Linked DNA regions of Homo sapiens: region 2 is linked to region 1. Evidence: promoter capture Hi-C in human tissues and cell types (Jung and others, 2019). All regions are on one chromosome and are shown on one strand. Each heading gives the region's core, a stretch centred on a gene start or on the middle of the fragment in contact. The rest is flanking DNA. Distances are from core to core; before and after follow the strand shown.

Region 1 (2,928 bases), core at 304-2,803:
TCATACCATTAATTGGAAATTAAATTCATAATGATTAATACATAAAAACAAAAAGAACTGCTGCCATTTATTAAGCAGCCATGCATTTTAGAATGTACATCTTAAGAATGTAGGTCTTATGTGCTTTTTTATCGATAAGGAAGTTGTACTCAGAGAAATTAGGTAAATTGCCTTAGGTCACAAAGTTCTGAAGAGAGTTGGGATTCGCAGCCATGCCTGTCTGATGTAAATGTCAGGGTTCTAGTTGACACTGCTTCTAGTTGTAGGGAATGTTTCCCATTTAATAGAGCAACTACAATGGTTGATTCCCTTCAATAATAACTTCTTATCAGGCAACCACTGTCACATTCAGGATTTCATTCCACCGAATTCCTATGCATTCAAATGTAAAAGAGGCTAGTGAAGAAGTAGGTCACATGAACCAATCTTTCCACCACCAACGAAAGCACTGCCCAGACTCCTGGGATGCCCTACTCTGGTATTTTCGTATCATTTTACCCAAGAATTGAAAAAAATGTCTGCTCAGATCCTTTGAATTCAACACCTTACCCACCACTTTCTTTCACTTCAAGCAAGGTCTGATTTGCACTAACTAGTAGGAGGTCACCATCTCTTAAGTGATTCCTCCCAGACTATTTTAGCTCTCAGGGACAGCCAGGGCCCTCAACGATTCCCTAAGCATCTCTGGGAAAGTTTACACATTACGCTGTTACAAGCAATTCATGTATGTGTGCATAGTGAAAACCTTTTCTCTTAAAACTCTTAATACTGAAGTTCCCCAAACCTTTGGAAAATGTACAAGTCACAGATGCTCCTGTGACTTGTTTTTCCCTTCGGGTGCGTCCTCAACCTTGCTTAAATAAACCTCTATTGAACGAGACCTGCATCAGTCACTTTTCGGTTAACACTAGGTATTCAACGAATAGACTAGTCCCGCCGTTGTCTCCAGATATGATGGTGCCCTGACCCAAAGAAGCGAGATACTCCTTCCCAGGGCCTCGCTCCCGAGCATGGGTTATTTGCACAAAACCCCGCAGGAAGCTTTTAGAGCCACAGTCGGCTAGGCTGGAGTCAGACTCTGTTACCTCCTGACTCTGCCATCACGAGCAAGGAGCCTGCTTCCTCATTGGCAAAAGGGAATGACCAAGGCACCACCTTACAGGGTTGTGGCAACGGGCTCATGGAATTATACATGCCAAGTGGTTATCACAGGGCCCGCCACTGGCGGAAGGTGAGACAATGTGGACGGCGAGGAAATGGGAGCATCGGCTGGAAACCAGGGACGGAGATCGGGGATGGGGGGCGGGCAAGGGGACAGCGGAAAGGGTGGGCGAGGGATCCGTGTCCCAACCCGCCGAGTCGCAGCTCTGCCCCTGCGAGCTTCCGCCGAGACCGCCCCCCGGGAAGCCGCGTTTCCTTCCTGCAGTCGCGGTCCGGCGTGGGGCACGGAGGGGCTCGCGCTCCCAGAAGCCGGCAGGCCTTCCCGCGGGCGGGCCCGCAGCGCGCTCCGCCCCGGAAACACGCCCATGGCCGCCTTGGCGCGCTTTCAAACGCTCAGGTTTCCTACCTTCCGGCTGCTTGGGAACTTCTTTCTTGCCCGCCAAGCCCGCAGCCACCCGGGCGCGGCGGGACTCCTAGACCCGGCGCTGCGATGAAGAGGACCCGCGACGAGGTGGATGCGACGCTGCAGATCGCCAAGCTGAATGCGGCCGAGCTGCTGCCGGCGGTGCACTGCCTGGGCTTCGGCCCTGGGGCCAGCGGCGCTGCAGCCGGCGACTTCTGCCTGCTGGAGCTGGAGCCCACGCTGTGCCAGCAGCTGGAGGATGGACACAGGTGAGCCCTGGTCACGCGGCGCCCCCAGCCTCTGGCCGGCCACGTTATTTTCTCAGCGGGGAAAGTCGGGATAAGAAAACAGGGCCAGAGAGATGCACTGACCTGGCCGGGGGCTCATAGCAAGCTGCCTGTTCCCGAGGAGTCCACGCCTCCGGTGGGCCGTCCAGTTAGCTGCACTGCGGTGATGAGTAGCACTGGTCCAGCTGACCTTGGAGGCATGTGTCAGCGGGAGCAAGTCAGGAAATACTAATACAACCTCCGTGAAGTTTTTGAAGAGTTACCGGTGATTACAGGGACTCTACAGGACACCTGTCACTCTACCTTAAAATACAGTGGTGATACCCAATGTTTATAGAACTCTTGCCTTCCACTTATATTTATTTTACTCAGATGATAGATAGGAAGTGCTGGGAATCAGCTTACAGACTTGGTAATTGGGTGAGACCCCTACCCACCCCGAAGCAAACTTGCTTAGTAGGGATCTGAAGCTGTTTCTAATTCCAGGTCAGATACAAACTTGCTGCAAGATCATTGATTAGAAGTCGAAGTTGAGGTAGTTTTTTAAAGGCAGTCTTGAGAAGTCTAGAGAATCGTTATATCCCTCCACCCTGTGCAGCCCCAGCTCCTGCAAAATAGGGAGCTCCAGCTTGATTCTCTTTTGCACAATTGGTCCTCCGACACCTATATTTTATTAGGCTATTTTTTCTCTTTTTTCTTAATGGAATCCTTTAGGCTGTCTTTCAGTTTTCGTACTTTGCCCACCAAAGAGTGTTAGAGTAAACTGGCCATTCTTCAGATACCTGCTATATACCTCAAAGTACCTTTAAGGGAACTGAAAGAACTTCACTAGTCTGTTTCCATCCCGGTTCAGTTGGTGGAGAGTTGAGAAAGGAACTCAGGTGTGAGGACTTTCTCTCGGTCCAGTTCTAGTTAATCTAGCTGGCAAAAACAAAACAAAACAAAAACAAAAAAATAAAAACAGGCCCTGGAAACGTGTGTTTTTAATTTTGGGGTGTAGGGAGTGATGGTATAAACAAAATATTTCAAAGTGGGGGTAGTGCAGTTAGAGAAATAAATGTTAAAGACTAGGTACTT
Region 2 (2,928 bases), core at 201-2,700, 35 kb after region 1:
GAATAACAAAAGCATTTATTAAGCAAATACTAGATGCCAGCTATAATTTTAAGTGTTTTCCATGTAAGTTTTTCAGTTGTCTTTGTTTTTTGAGATGTGATCTTGCTCTGTCACCCGTGTCACAATCATGACTCGCTGCAGCCTCAACCTCCCAGGCTCAAGCAATCATTCCACCTCAGCCTCCCCAGTAACTGGAACTACAGCCACCATGCCTGGCTAATTTTTTAATAGTTTATGTACAGATAGGGTCTTGCTATGTTGACCAGGCTGGTTCTGAACTCCGGGACTCAAGCAGTCCTCCTGCCTCAGCCTCCCAAAGTGCTAGGATTACAGGCGTGAGCCCATGCCTGGCTGTTCGGTTGTCATAATAACACTAATAGGCCAATAATGTCATTTTTTATGAGGAAACTGAGGCACAGTGGGCTGGAGTTACTAGCTCAATATCATACAGTTACTAAGTGGTAGAGCTAGGATTTGAATACAGGGAGTCTACCTCCAGAACACCTGCTTTTCACGGTGACACTACACTGTCCTTAACCTTGTAGTGTACAGTAAATAAAATCCTATAAGTGACCCAGAAGTAGTCGTGGAAACTAGGAGAATGCCTATTTTCCACTACCCTCGTTTATAGTGAATGGGAGAGTAAGTAGCTTCTTGTCTAGGAGGATTCAGGAACCATTTCATTTAAGGCAAGAGGGTAGAGAGGGAGTTTTAGAAAAGGTTGAAAAGCACAGGGGAAATGTTTAAAATGGAGTGTGGGCTCCAGGAGAATGGTTATCTGTGAAGTGGTGGGGAGAGAGCAAGAAGCAAGGAGTGAGAAGCTAGATGACCCGAGAGGCTTGCAGTTATGCCAGTGGCTAAGGGCAGCAGAGATTGAAGACTTGTAGAGGTTAATGGGTCCGAATGTTTCAGGCAGCTGTAGGTTAGAGCCCTAGGTGGTGGCAGAGGCCTGATGGTACAAGGAGACTGGGCTTTTCCTATCTTCCTGAAATACATTTCATCATTCTATTATTGTTACCAGAGTTTAGAAAACCAGATGCTGTTCTTATGTCCCACCCAAGTAGCAGTTGACAGTACTTCTTTAATCTTTTGTTTTGTAGTTGTCTTGGTTCTAAATCTTATCTTTCAGCTGATCCAAGCTCATTTAAATTTAGAATGGTCATTGGATGACAGATATGCTAATTAAAAGGAATTCTGGTCTTCCTTCCTACAGCAGCTCATAGTTTACACCTTTAAACACAGAATCTTTATCAACTTTATTTTGGCCTTTGTTCTTTTGTTCTCTGTGTTTCTAGCTCACAGATATGTGCTGATTGTTCTAATTTAAGTGTATGGCTCTCCTCTTACTTGGGAATTGAGAACAAAGGGGCTACAGAATCTCTAGGCTTTCTTGAGCGGTTGGACTAAATGTTACCTAAAAACAATTCTTGCATATCATTTAAAACCCTTGTACCCACAGGCATTATGGCATAGTGGGAATTGTTTGGAATTATTTAGTTGTGTTTGAATCTCTAGTCTCTACTTATTACTGACCTACTTTTTTTGCCTTTCTTATCTTATCTGTAAAAAGTTAACTTTTTAATACTGTACAGTAGTATTTGTAGCTTCTCTGTAGAAAGTATAAAGTAGTACTTGTCTCTTAGAGTTGGTATTAGGATTAGAGGGAACATAGGAAAGTATCTAGTGTAATGTCTGGTACCTGGTAGCAGCCATTATAATCTAGTCCTCTGTGGTTGCTGTCTGAATTTTGTCTTAGATATTTCTGTTATAGCCTCTGAAATTTTTCTCTTCACGTTGGAGTCCTGAAATATTGCTATTTCATGCTGTCCCTTGTTTTATGTTTGAGTACATCAATTTTCAACCCAGGATATTAAAATCAATTAACATATATTCTGTGTTTCATCTGTTCGTCTTTCCCATTGATTCAATACAAGAGGGTGGTGGGCAGTCTGTATTTAACTGTTTTTCATGTGTTGGATACAGAGACATTGCTACCATACAGCTAACATGGTAGAACTACATATGGCCTCTGGACTACTTGACAGGAAGTGATTGAACACTGTGATGTATTTGCTGCTCCTGGATATGGCAGCAGATTTTTCCTACTTGCCTTGGTATCTTTTGTAGCTCTTGCTGTTTTACCTGTCCTAATTTACTCATGAGCAGAAACTCATACTTGTTAGCTTCAGTGGTATAATTTTTTACCCCTTTTTTTTTCTGCCATGTTCTTTCACTCATCACCCTTCTGATTTTGATTCCCTTTCTGCTCTGTAATTTTTTTCTTCTTCCCTTTTTAGGGCCTAGTCTGTTTAGAAATTCTGGTTTTTGAGAGTAGTGAGCCCTTTTACTTTTTTCTGACTGCCTAATTTTCACTGATAGTGAATATGAACCACCAGGATGATAAAGTATACATAACTCACACCCATTCAGTCACTAGGACAATCATGTTTGAAATTAAGATACTTGGAGAGCATATGTATGTATGTAGCTATTAGGGATTTTGTCTCTGTAGTATAATATGTGTACAAGTGGTAAAAATAAAAGAAATATATTCTGAAACATACCAGTCTTTATAATGAAGTTGTTATTCTCTATCTTTACAGGGATTTGTGGAACTGACTATATTTCCCACAGTTGCAAACTTGAATAGAATCAAGTTGAACAGCAAACAGTGTAGAATATACCGAGTAAGGATCAATGATTTAGAGGCTGCTTTTATTTATAATGACCCAACCTTGGAAGTTTGTCACAGTGAATCAAAACAGTAAGTTATGCACTTTAAAAGTCACTATTTTTAACAGTTTTGAAAAAATGTTTTTAATGATTGGATTAGTTTTTCTCAAAGTATTTTTTTTTTGGATCGTTAATGGGCTTTGAATCCCAATCTTTATCTGTTTTACCACTCTGTACATTTGGTTCAAGTGATTT

What was found. Contacts are between HindIII fragments. The study calls those that stand out against the background at their distance.
Region 2: a contact is called between a fragment that was not itself captured here and the fragment with the promoter of DSCC1 in region 1, in 1 of the 25 tissues and cell types used here (liver).

What each region holds. Positions count from the first base shown.
Region 1 is chr8:119,854,519-119,857,446 of GRCh38, reverse strand. It overlaps DSCC1 (DNA replication and sister chromatid cohesion 1), which reads left to right and starts at 1,553. Exons shown (of 9, transcript NM_024094.3): 1 at 1,553-1,833. The coding sequence starts at 1,652. It overlaps LOC105375728 (a long non-coding RNA gene), which reads right to left. Exons shown (of 4, transcript XR_928590.3): 2 at 2,645-2,772; 3 at 1,568-2,041. RefSeq lists a silencer at 1,402-1,461 and an enhancer at 1,572-1,881. The HindIII fragment of the contact is 8,457 bases long and covers 1-2,928 here.
Region 2 is chr8:119,819,182-119,822,109 of GRCh38, reverse strand. TAF2 (TATA-box binding protein associated factor 2) reads left to right here. Exons shown (of 26, transcript NM_003184.4): 3 at 2,604-2,764. Among named protein-coding and RNA genes, the nearest start is that of TAF2, 12 kb to the left of the region's middle. The HindIII fragment of the contact is 5,556 bases long and covers 1-2,928 here.